Linked DNA regions of Homo sapiens: region 2 is linked to region 1. Evidence: promoter capture Hi-C in human tissues and cell types (Jung and others, 2019). All regions are on one chromosome and are shown on one strand. Each heading gives the region's core, a stretch centred on a gene start or on the middle of the fragment in contact. The rest is flanking DNA. Distances are from core to core; before and after follow the strand shown. Region 1 holds the start of GDF9 (growth differentiation factor 9). Region 2 has its middle 8.1 kb from the start of IL5.

Region 1 (6,187 bases), core at 2,038-4,537:
GAAAGTAGTATTTTTCTCTTGGATAATCTCTAGAGGGAAAACCATAATAGAAACACTTATCAGACTTACTAAGATGACATTCTAAGCCCTAGTGAAGAAAGTCAATTTAAAACAATGTAATTGGTCCTAGTTAATTTAGAACACTTGAGATTAAAAACAGATGCTCTAAAACCACTATATTAAAATAGGATATTAAGGAAGCAGATACAACTGCCCTGTTGGGTTAGAATGGTTTTAAATCAAGAGCTGGTAGATATATACTTTTTTTTTTTTTTTTGAGACAGAGTCTCGCTCTGTTGCCGGGCTGGAGAGCAGTGGTGCGATCTTGGCTCACTGCAACCTCTGCCTCCTGGGTTCAAGCGATTCTCCTGCCTCAGCCTCCCGAGTAGCTGGGACTACAGGTATGCACCACCACACCCAGCTAATTTTTGTATTTTTAGTAGAGACGGGGTTTCACCATGTTATAATTTTTTAAAGCACCACACCCAACTGCTGAGTCAAACTGTGGACTGATACTTTGTTCTTGTAAGGGCCAACTGTTCAAAACGGGAACTTTAAGCTTTTCTCTCACAGAAAGTAACAAACAAGAGAAAAATATCCTATTTAACACATCACACCAATAGCTGTAAGAGATGTTTAAGGTCCATTTCTGGGCCAAAAGCTTGGTGGAACAGAAAGAGGTGCTAACATTCTCTAGCAGCACTTCCGCTCAGCCTTGAAAGCCATTAAGTCTCTGGTGTTGCTTTAAAATTCCATCATATTAGCCCACCTTAACCAATGAGAGCGTTAGGAATAAACAATAAGCTCAAGTCCCAGATTTGTTTCAACTGGATATTGAGTTTTATGCAAAATAAAATACAATTCAAGGAACTAGGCTCAGCTCCTTTCTGTAATTGAAATGCAGAAGTGTCTATCATCTTCCCTCCACCCAGTTAACCAATCTGCTTTCACATACCTGTTACCTGGTCTCCAGGAGCCTGCTTGTGCCGGGTACAGGGGGTGAAGAGCCGAACAGTGTTGTAGAGGTGACTTCTATTGGATTTAGGAATCCCTTCCTTGGTAGCATATGTCTTATAGAGCTTCTTCATGTAGTGCAAAGCTCTGGAGTCTGGCTGCAGCCTAGGTGACCCACCTCGCCCAACAGATAGAACTTTGAAAAGCGCGGGAAGGAGGCCAGCTCTGTCTCTCTCATCTATATGCTGCAGCAAGGACCAAGGCATAGCCCCAGATTCCAACTCAGCACTAGCAGCAATCTGAGCTTCTCCCCCAGAAGCCTGAGAACCAAGGCTAATAGGAAAACACAGCCAGGCAAAGCAGCAAAACCAAAGGAGGAATTTGTTGGGACGTGCCATGGCTTGGGAGAACTAGTGAGGAACATATTTCTCCATGCCAGTCCTCTTCCTAAAGGCCAGGAAGAGCCTAGCTTGGTCTCTTAAATAAATTTCAGGTGTGTGGGTGGACTACGGTCACTTCTGTAATCAGGCCTCAAGTATGCCTAGCTGAAGATTTTATCAGCTCTATATCAAGCAGCTGATAACACCTTATTTAGCCAATTTGTTAATTAGATACAGATTTACTTGGTTATTTAGCTTTCCTCTCTTTTCCCCTGGCATTTACGTAAAACCCGTTACTGTTACACTACCGGACTAACTATGTAGCTGAAAGTCTAAGATAAATTGAGGAATGATCTTAAATAAAATCTCTCATTTTTTGAGAAATTTGGATTAAGATGTTCGCTAGGTGCTTGCTGAAACTTCTAAGGCATGTGGAAAAGCTAACCAATTATTCATGACGATACTCAGATCTGCTGGTATGCAACTTATGGTATTAGGTTTACTCTTCCTCTCAATTTATCCTCACGGCCTTTTCCACTTCCAGGTGTTTACAATTGTAATTATTCGCTGCATGTTAATTTGCGAATTTACAAATTTGGGTGAGAAAGTCACAATTGGCATAGAAGTTCCAGAAAGCAGAAAACCATTAGGTCTCTCAGTCCTCCCAGGTGGCTGGGTACAGAATACGTACTTGGAGTACTGGAATTGTATTTGCGATGTTCTTAAAAGAGGACACCGCCTTTAACCTTGACTTATTTTTAAATGTAACATACTGATGTCCTTACTTTGGTCTGCACACTCATCTATACATATTTTGGTTGAAAGGTTTTGGGATGTTTGCAGATGCTATAAAATAAATGAACGTTTTATTATTATTCATCCAAATGGTGGTAGAATTTGCCACAATATTTCTGTCCTTACCTGTATTTCTGTTCTTGCCTTGGAGCTGAGACCAGGCTAGACATTATGGTTTAAAAAAATGAGGCAAAGGAGCACCATGAAAAGCTGAAATGAGGGGATATTCAGCGCCACCCCGAAGGAGACTATGCTGGAAGAGTCAGCCTACACTCATAGTGCAAGATACGAAGCCAGTTTGTGCAGTACCTACATGAGAAAACTAAGGTATGTCTGCAAAATACAAGTTGACTGCCTGCCGAGCCTCCGTGGTCCGTAAGTAGTGTTATAAAACACAGCCAACTGTTGAATGAGAGCTTAGTCCTAGATAAAATATGGCCAGCAATTCCATTAACAAAACACTGACAAGACACCTCAGGGCGAGCTGTACATTGACAACAGCATCGTCAAGCAGAATGCACTTCAGGGAAAACATAATAAGGCCTCTCACCCGACTTTCCTTGCTTCTCACGTGGGGAGAAGAAAGAACTGGGGCATCGTGATTCCCCCCACCCCACGCAAACCATCTGGGGAGGACGCTGGCTGCTGTCGAGGCGGCCTCAGCATTCATCAATTGACGATTATTTGATTATTTTTGTGGCTGAAACTGACGAAACGTTTGTATTATCTCTTGGGAACGTTAACAGCCTGCCAGGGGACTCTAAAACAGAGTCCAAGAGAAGCCTTCGATGTGTGTCCCTGATTTTGGTGCTGGGGTCGCTCATGGCCTGAAAATAACGAAGCCCCCTTTGAGCTACTGGCCAAGGCCAAATGAAACCTCGTGCTCCTCTGCTGTGGGGCGGCCCGGCCTCGGGGCTCAGAGGCGCTCTGTCTACAGCTGGGAAGACTCGCAGGCCCCAAGCTCCTGGCCAGCGCTGCCCCGGAGGTCGGCAGGCCCCTTCCTCGTCACCTTTTTGTTCCCTCCCCCGCCTCCCGCATTCGGCCGCTTCCTGACTGGGATTCCACAGAAAAGCCGAGGGCTGAGGAGAAGTGTGAGCGCCTCCGCCTGTCCACTGTCCCCCAAAGTCAGTTCAATCCCCGACGTCCTCCGCTAGGCTCCACCCCACCGGCCCGGGCAGGGCCTCCAAGGCACCTCCCACCTACGGGTCACCCAGTCAGCCCACTTCTTTCTGGGACAAAGGCGTCATCCCTTAGAGACAGTAGGAAAATGGTATCTCCCGGAAGTTACCTCACGACCTCCAAGAGCGGCTTCCAACCTTGCCGGAAATGACGAACGAGTCAACCGGATCGGTGACTGTGGAGGGCGAGCTGAGCCCTGTGCGTGAGTGGGGTCTGGTTGTGCAGTGTTCGTGGACCCTGGGAGGCTAGGGGCGCCCCGCTGGGCTGGGAAAGGATAAGGAGTGCAGGGGCAGGAGTCTGGGGTTGGGGATGGACCCCCGCGGGGACTGCGGCGCTTCGCGAAAGCGAGCCAAGCGCCTGTCCACCCTCGGTCCTGCAGGGCCGCCGCCACAATGGGCCGCGAGTTTGGGAATCTGACGCGGATGCGGCATGTGATCAGCTACAGCTTGTCACCGTTCGAGCAGCGCGCCTATCCGCACGTCTTCACTAAAGGAATCCCCAATGTTCTGCGCCGCATTCGGGAGTCTTTCTTTCGCGTGGTGCCGCGTGAGTGCCTTGGGCCCGCGGGAGCGGGAGGCTGGACCCCAGCAGCAGCAGCAGTCACTGCGCCTCCCCTCTGAGCGCTGGCGGCCGGGCAGGCGCTCTGTAACTTGCCGTACACACCTTTCTCATTGAATATTCCTGACCGCCCTTAAGCTGGTCATATTATCCTCCCCATCTTACACGGGGAAAACTGAGCTACAGAACTGAAATGACTGGCCCAAGGTCACTCGGGTGATTCCAGCATGTTCCTCTGAGGTCACCTTTATTTAGTTCTTACCAGTGGTGAAATGCTTTGTGTTAAACGTGCAGCAGATAGTGATGATAGTTGCATGGCCTTGGATATGCTAAGAACTACTGAAGTGTATGCTTTAAAGAAGACAAGAGGACTGAGACCTTTTTTTTTCTTCTATATGTCTTATATGTGTGCTCTCTGTTTACTCTCTTAATTTTTAAAGAGTTTGTAGTGTTTTATCTTATCTACACATGGGGGACTGAAGAGTTCGAGAGATCCAAGAGGAAGAATCCAGCTGCCTATGAAAATGACAAATGAGCAACGCATCCGGATGACGGTTCCCTGTCTCTGAAAGACCTTTCTCTGGAAGAGGAGTCTGCATTGTAGTGTCTCAAAGACACAATAAACTTCCTATGGTCTGCACTGTTGTGATATTACATTTTTGTGAGTAGAATCCTGTGTGACCACTAATATTCAAGTTCATGAAGCGCCCCTCCTCAGCATGAGTCTTGAAGTTTTGCCTGGTCTCGGGTTTTGGTGAAAGAGCAGGGCTCCCCCTTTGTTCCATTATCTACAAGAAAGTAGCTGCAGGTACTCCTGCATCTAACCATTTGTGGGTGACATGGGCTATGGCGAGTGCTGGTTCTTGGCCCTCTGCTCCCATAGCAACAATAAAGTCTACTAACTATATTGTAATTAGTATGTGTCAGGGACGCTTTTATTTTTTATTTTTTGAGATGGAGTCTTGCTCTCTCACCCAGGCTGGAGTGCAGTGGTGTGATCTCGGCTCACTGCCATCTGTGCCTCCTGGGTTCAAACGATTCTCCTGTCTCAGCCTCCGAGTAGCTGGGATTACAGGTGCAGGACACCACACCTGGCTAATTTTTTGTATTTTTAGTAGAGACAGGTTTCACCATGTTGGCCAGGCTGGTCTGGAACTCCTGACCTCAGATGATCTGTGCGCCTCAGCCTCCCAAAGTGCTGGGATTACAGGCGTAAGCCATGGTGCTCTGGGCCTCAAATACTCTTCTTAGCTACACAAATGAACTGTTAAACCTCACAAGCACCTTTAACGTATCCTCATTTGGCAGATGAGGAAATGGGCACAGAGAGATTAAGTAATTTGCCAGAAATTATACAGCAGTGAATGGTGGAGTCTTGCACTAAAGTGATGCTCTTAAAACTATGCTCTATTGCAGGGGTGTCCAATCTTTTAGCTTCCCTGGGCCACACATAAAATACGCTAACATTACAATAGCTGATAAGCTTTAAAAAATGGCAAAAAAAACCCTCAGCGTTTTAGAAAGTTTACAAATTTTTGTTGGGTCGGATTCAAAGCCATCCTGGGCTGCTTGCTGCCCAGGACTGCGGTTGGACAAGCTTGCTCTACTGCCTTTCCTCCTAAGGCAGGCCTTAGCCTGAGGGGATATCAGCTATAAAACGGATGAGGTGATCTCTTAGCCTCCACAGCAGTTTTCTGTTTCTGTGCCAGGAGGCCAACAATGTTTTCAACCATATGTGGTTCATAAAGCCTCAAAGATTTACTCTGGCCCTTTATGAATAAAGTTTACCCCTGATCTAAAGCCTTTAAATTATCTTTTTGGTATTAAAGATACCATTTTCCCTTCGCCCACCGAGAGATGGTGGGGGTAGGTGTGGTTGGCAGTTTTATGCCTCTAGTTCCTTAGAGAGGCTTCTCTCTAAGCTTCGGGACATGGATCTCACCTGTGGTAGCAGGTATGTGGAATATGATGAGTTGTCATAGCTCAGTCAGTACAGTATATGCTATGGGATCTGAGATCCGTTTTTAGAAACTCTTCTAAGGACTCTTCCTGCTAGCAGCAACTTTGATTCTGGGTCAGACTGTGTTTTTTTTTTTTTTTTTTTGAGATGGGAGTCTTGCTCTGTCACCAGGCTGGAGTTTAGTGGCGCAATCTCAGCTTACTGCAACCTCCGCTTCCCGGGCTCAAGTGATTCTCCTGCCTCAGCCTCCCAAATAGCTGGGACTACAGGCGCATACCAACACACCCAGCTAATTTTTGTATTTTTATTTTTTTTTTTAGTAGAGACGGAGTTTCACCATGTTGGCCAGGATGGTCTTGAT
Region 2 (6,187 bases), core at 1,374-3,873, 330 kb before region 1:
CCTCTGTTGGGAACTACTGTTATAACCCCTTGTCAAAACCACACTTAATTATTAAGGCTTGATATCTAGCAAGACAAGTTCTCCCATTTGGGTTTTGTTTTGTTTTGTTTTGTTTGTTTGTTTGCTTTTGAGACAGGGTCTCACTCTATTGCCCAGGCTGGAGTGCAGTGGTGCAACCTCAGCTCACTGCAACCTCTGCCTCCCCGGCTCAAGCGATTCTCATGCCTCAGCCTCCCAAGTAGCTGGGACTAAAGGTGTATGCCACCACGCCCAGCTAATTTTTTTGGATTTTTACTAGAGATGGGGTTTTGCAATATTGCGCATTGTGGTCTCGAACTCCTGAGCTCAGACAATCTGCCTACCTTGGCCTCCCAAAGTGCTAGGATTACAGGTGTGAGCCACCACACCCGGCCACGTTCTCCCATTTTCAGCTCCTTCTTTAGAATTGTATTGGCTATTCTTGGACTCTCATTTTCCCGTGTACATTTTAGAATCAGCATAGTATGATCATGAAAAAAATGCTTGGGATTTTGATAGGAGTCACATTAAATGTATAAATCAGTTTGCAAATTACAGTGTCAAGTCTTGATCCGTGGACATACTAGGTCTCTGCATTTGCTGTTGTTACTATCTTTCATAAAGTTTTTAAATGTTTTCCATGTTTTGTTAGATTTATTCTTTGGCACTTTACATTTCTTTTTTTTTTCTTTTAGAGAGAGAGAGATGGGGTCTTACTCAGTTGCCTAGGCTGGAGTGCAGCCTCAAACTTCTGGCCTCAAATGATCCTCCTGCCTTAGCCTTTCCCAAGTAGTTGAGATTACAAGCACGTGCCCCCATACCCTTTGGCACTTTATAGTCTTATAAGTATTATAATAATGCTTATACTTATTTGTAATGATGTCTTCTTTAAAATTACATTATCTGTTTTTTGGTAATGTATAATTTGTAATTGATTTTGCATATTTATCCAGCAACTTGCTGAACTCTCTTATTCCTTATAATCATTTGACTGACTCTACGTGTTTTTGAGTTCCATTTTTATCATAGTGTATCATCTGCAAATATATATATGATTTTTGTTTCTTCCTTTATAATCCTCATATTTATTAGTTCTATTAATATGAATGATCTTTTTGCAAAGGCTGGGACCTTTGGTCAGTTTTTAATGGAAACAAAGTTAGTCTCCAGGGACACTAGTACATCATATAAAGCCTCTGTGCAAATTGGAAAAAGATACTTCTATCTGGTATGAAATTGTCATACATACTCAAATATATAATGTCTCTGATGTAAATGGTGCTTCCTGGGATTGTGCAGTGCACAGAGTGGTCCTGCAGGTATTCTTGCATTATTCTTTTTTTAAAGAGATGATTTGAACATATTACCATTGAGCACAGTATTTTCTGTAAGTTTATCAGGTTAAAAAAGTTCCTTTCTATTTTGACTTTGTTAAAAAGTAATTATAATAAATGAATGTAAAATTTCAGTAATGCTTTTTCTGCATTGATATCATCATGTGATTCTTCTCTCTCTCTCTCTCTCTTTTTTGTTTTGTATTTTGAGACTGAGTTTCGCTCTTGTCACCCAGGCTGGAGTGCAATGGCACGATCTCAACTCACTGCAACCTCCGCCTCCCAGGTTCAAGCGATTCTTCTGCCTCAGCCTCCAGAGTAGCTGGGATTACAGGTGCCCGCCACCATGCCCAGCTAATTATGGAATTTTAGTAGAGACAGGGTTTCACCATGTTGTCCAGGCTGGTCTCAAACTCCTGACCTCAGGTGATCCACCTGCCTCGGCCTCCCAAAGTGCTGGGATTACAGACGTGAGCCACTGTGCCCAGCCTGATTCTTCTCTTTAAAAAGTGATTAATGTGGTAAATTACATTAATAGATTTTCTGACATTTAATTTTATATTCCTGAAATAAAGGAATATTTCATATTCCTGACACTTAATTTTATATTCCTGAAAGAAAGACATTACATTAGTTGTTATGTAATGTCTTTTTATACATGCTGGATTTGGATTTATAAAACTTTGATAACAATGTTTATGTCCACATTCATGAGTGAGTATGGGATCATAATTTTTCTTTCATATATTTTCCTCCTCTGACTTTCGTATGCTACATATTAGCTTCACAAAATGAGCTGGGAAATATCTCATTTTGTTTATTTTCTATAAGAGTTTATATATGTTTGGAATTATATGTGACCTGACACTTTAGAAGGACTCACCTAGAAAACTATCTGGACTTGGTGTATTCTTTCAAGAAAGATTTTAAATGACTGGTTTAATTTCTTTAGTGGTTCTAGATCTGTTTAGATTTTTCTATGTCTTCTTGCATCAGTTGTGGAAATTTATGTTTGTATTGGATACATATTTGTGTGCCTTCTCAGATTGCCCTCACTGCCTCCTATCTGTCTCTTTGTCAGCACCAACACCAACACAGCACCCTTAATTTCCAGGCATAGAAGGCAAGCAGAGCCTGACTTCAGGCTCTGCTTTCTGAAGAGACCTGGCTATGACAATTAGTATCAGATGTAATTTTAGGTAACAAACACTTGGAAATGGAACATTGACATTGGATTATTCACTATTTTAAAATAATATGAACCTATTGCTGAATATAAGTAGGTTGATAATAACTTCTGGCAGGCAGTGGCTTTGCAATTTCTTAAGCTTTTAGCTCTGGTTAATTTAGATGAGGGGCAGGTGGACAGCAAGACAATGAAAGATAAAATGACAGGGTTATATGAGAACAATGGTAATTATAAAGATTGCAGAGTACAATGACTCTTCTGACAGCACTGAAGACCTTACCAAAAGAAAATGATAGGCTCATGGCAATCTAATTCTAACTTAACATATTCTCGGAATGCTCGACAACTCCCATGGCAACTTTAGAGGAGACTCTTATTTCCAGCAACTGCAGGGCAAACCGATCTGAAAATTAGGCTCAGGATCTGATTATTTGCAGCCTTTGAAGAGCTTCAAAGGAGAAGAGTGGATTTTGCACATTCTGTGTCAAAGTCAGGGCTCTTATGAGGAAAGGCTGGGACCATGAGACCTGGGATAGAAACATTTGGGTGGACAAACCTAAAACTCTTGAACCTCCAAATTCTCTGAGCCCTCCTTAACTGGTAGAAGCAGACCTTTCCCCCTTGCCAGAGTAGACTAACTTCTCCTTGCCTGGAAACAGAATAACTATTTCACTTGAAACATATACTTCACAAGATGACATTTGTTCTGCCCACAACCCTCCCTCAACACCCCTTATTGCCTCAAGGCCAATAATTAAAGTCAGATCTAAGAACATCTTGTGTTAACTAGGCACCAACCAGGAGACACAAACTATACCAGTTATTTTAATAAGCAGAATTAAATATAAAGAACTGTTAGCCAGGTATTGGAAAACTAGGCAGGCAAAAAGGGAACAATAAGGTATCAAGGAGGTGGCAATTGTGGGAAGCAGCTAGCACTTCTATGTCTGGGAAGCAAAGGGAACAGGTGAAAATTATTAAAACTTATAAATTTGGAGGACGGGCTTTGTGGACCTGAAACTCAGACATCTGTAGAGGGGACACTGCTCTGCATGCAGTGCAGTTCCTGAGCTCAGAAAAGGGGTCCTTTGGGAATGGGATCCAGACCTCTGAGGGGATGCTGATTGGCTGTTGCTGGGGTCTCAGAGGGAAATGAGGTGTGCTAAGGTCGGTTCTATGAATGGTGGAAAAACTGCAAACTATAATCAAATGTTGCTACTAGAGTCAACTACTGCTGCCAGGGTTCATGTTAGGATTAGGATTAGGAATAGGAATATAAGAGGACAGGAACAGGAAACAAAAACAAAGAATAGGAAGCAACAGGAAGAAAAAAGTCCCCTTTTCTTCCTCCAGCCTCCTAGTCTACACCCTCCATTGACAGATCCTAACAGGGTTGCAGCTGGCAAAGGAGAAATTGGTTTGCAGAATCCCAGCTGCAGCAGAGTATAGTATAGTGGGCTTGAAGCTGAGAGACAATAGCTTCACAGCTGACATACAGTCTTGGCAGGGAAGTGTAAGGTGTGCAGGAGTTTACTAATATGTACTGTCAGAATCCAGAATCGAGTGCATCCTGCAGCTGTTTGTCCAGAAGAATATAGAGTTGAATGGGATTGGATTTATTGGTGTGGGTATACTTACGACTCAGAATTAAGTTTTCGCAAGAACAACTGGAGTTAGTCCTAATAGTTTGCTGGAGTGGCTCCTTGAAGCCTGATCCTGATGATGGTGTACAGAATATGAAGTGGAGACACCTGAACTTCCTCCCATAGTATTGAAGAAAAGAGCAGATAGCTCAGAGAAGCAGGAATACTAAAATGGATTTTTTGTATCTGGCCTGAGAACCTACTATCTGAGTATGTTCCTGGAGGACACAGAATATACTCCTTTTACTAACACAGCAACAGATACACTAGTGAAGAGAAGCAGGCATCATTGCAAACATTGGTGGTGGATGTCCCCTGTAAGCTGGGTTGAAGGTGAAAGATGCTGCCAATGACATGGACTCCCTAATATCAATAGGCAACATGAGATCCCTAGAATGGCAGAGCTCAGGTTGGAAGCACTTAAACATTAGAGGCAAGGGGGACATAATTACCACCACAAACAGCAAGGCCATGGTGCCAACCAGGGTGCCTTGACTCTTAACCTTCAGGGATCTATTGTGGTGGCTAAGAAATTAAAGTGTTCCTAGAGACAAGAAACGTTGATAATCAATTAGCATGTATATGTAATCAAGTGGTAAAGGGCTGACATCAGCCACCACAGTGGAAATGCAAGCTCTTCATCCAGTTCCCACATCTAAGGCATTCATAAACCCAGTGTCCATTGATTGAACAGGAGGACTCTATAATCCCACTACATATACATGCAGTAAACTTTCTTTAATCCTTTACCAAAGCGATCTGGAGCCATTCATCAGGATAAGTACACACTAGTATAGGAGATACCCAAACTTTTCAAACATTGTTAAATATGAGGTCTGAGCTAATACTGACACCAGGAAAACCTAAATCTGCCATGATTCTTTGGTAAGAATGGGACTTCCATCGGACAAGTGAAACATGGAGACTCCTAGGCTTGAGTCTTTTATACTCTGGAACTGTTTTTCTAGTTCTTTGTTGTATAAATGGAATAAACATTCTAAGCACCTGGTAGAACCTTCCTGTGGCTTTGAAACTTTTGTAACAGCTCGTTACATTTATAGGCCTGTGCATTTTACTCTCTCTATGTCGTGATCCTGATGGTAAATGTACACAATGATATGAGACCATGAAAGCAGTAGGTCAGCTGGCCACAGGCAGGTACATTGAGATTAAAAAAACTGCTGGACATGGTGGCACTTGCCTATAGTTCCAATTACTCAGGAGGGTGAGATGGGAGGATCACTTGAACCCAAGAGTTTGCGTCCAGCCTGGACAACATAGCAAGACTCTATCTCTTAAAAAAATAAAAACAGTCCAGGCACGGTGGCTCATGCCTGTAATCCCAGCACTTTGGGAGGCTGAGATGGGCAGATCATGAGGTCAGGAGCTCGAGACCATCCTGGCTAACATGGTGAAACCCCATCTCTACTAAAAATACAAAAAAATTAGCCAGGTGTGGTGGTGGGCACCTGTAGTCCCAGCTGCTAGGGAGGCTGAAGCAGGAGAATGGCATGAACCTGGGAGGCGGAGCTTGCAGTGAGCTGAGACCATGCCACTGCACTCCAGCATGGGTGACAGAGTGACACTCTGTCTCAAAAAATAAATAAATAAATGAATGAATAAATAAATAAAAAGACCGGGCACGGTGGCTCACACCTATAATCTCAGCACTTTGGAAGGCTGAGGCAGGTGGATTGCTTGAGGTGAAGAGCTCAAGACCAGCCTGACCAACATGGTAAAACACTGTCTCTACTAAAAATATAAAAATTAGCTGGGTGTGGTGGCATGCACCTGTAGTCCCAGTTACTCGGGAGGCTGAGGCAGGAGAATCACTGGAACCCAGGAGGTGGAGGTTATAGTGAGCCGAGATCATGCCACTGCACTCCAGGCTGGGTGACAAAGTGAGACTCCATCTCGAAAAAAATAATAAATGAATAAATAAATAAATAAATAAAAATAAAAAGAGGGCAGTGTGGTGGCTCATACTTGTAATCCCAGCACTT

Evidence for each region. The method cuts DNA at HindIII sites, captures the fragments that hold promoters and counts their contacts. A contact is called where the count stands out against the background at its distance.
Region 2: a contact is called between a fragment that was not itself captured here and the fragment with the promoter of GDF9 in region 1, in 1 of the 25 tissues and cell types used here (IMR-90 fibroblasts).

The regions. Positions count from the first base shown.
Region 1 is chr5:132,863,182-132,869,368 of GRCh38, forward strand. GDF9 (growth differentiation factor 9) reads right to left here and starts at 3,288. Exons shown (of 2, transcript NM_005260.7): 1 at 956-3,288. The coding sequence starts at 1,352. It overlaps UQCRQ (ubiquinol-cytochrome c reductase complex III subunit VII), which reads left to right and starts at 3,461. Exons shown (of 3, transcript NM_014402.5): 1 at 3,461-3,506; 2 at 3,688-3,854; 3 at 4,307-5,666. The coding sequence starts at 3,701. The coding sequence ends at 4,401. RefSeq lists enhancers at 2,740-3,939, 2,798-3,298, 3,299-3,799. The HindIII fragment of the contact is 5,371 bases long and covers 255-5,625 here.
Region 2 is chr5:132,532,349-132,538,535 of GRCh38, forward strand. No RefSeq gene overlaps it. Among named protein-coding and RNA genes, the nearest start is that of IL5, 8.1 kb to the right of the region's middle. The HindIII fragment of the contact is 7,519 bases long and covers 1-6,187 here.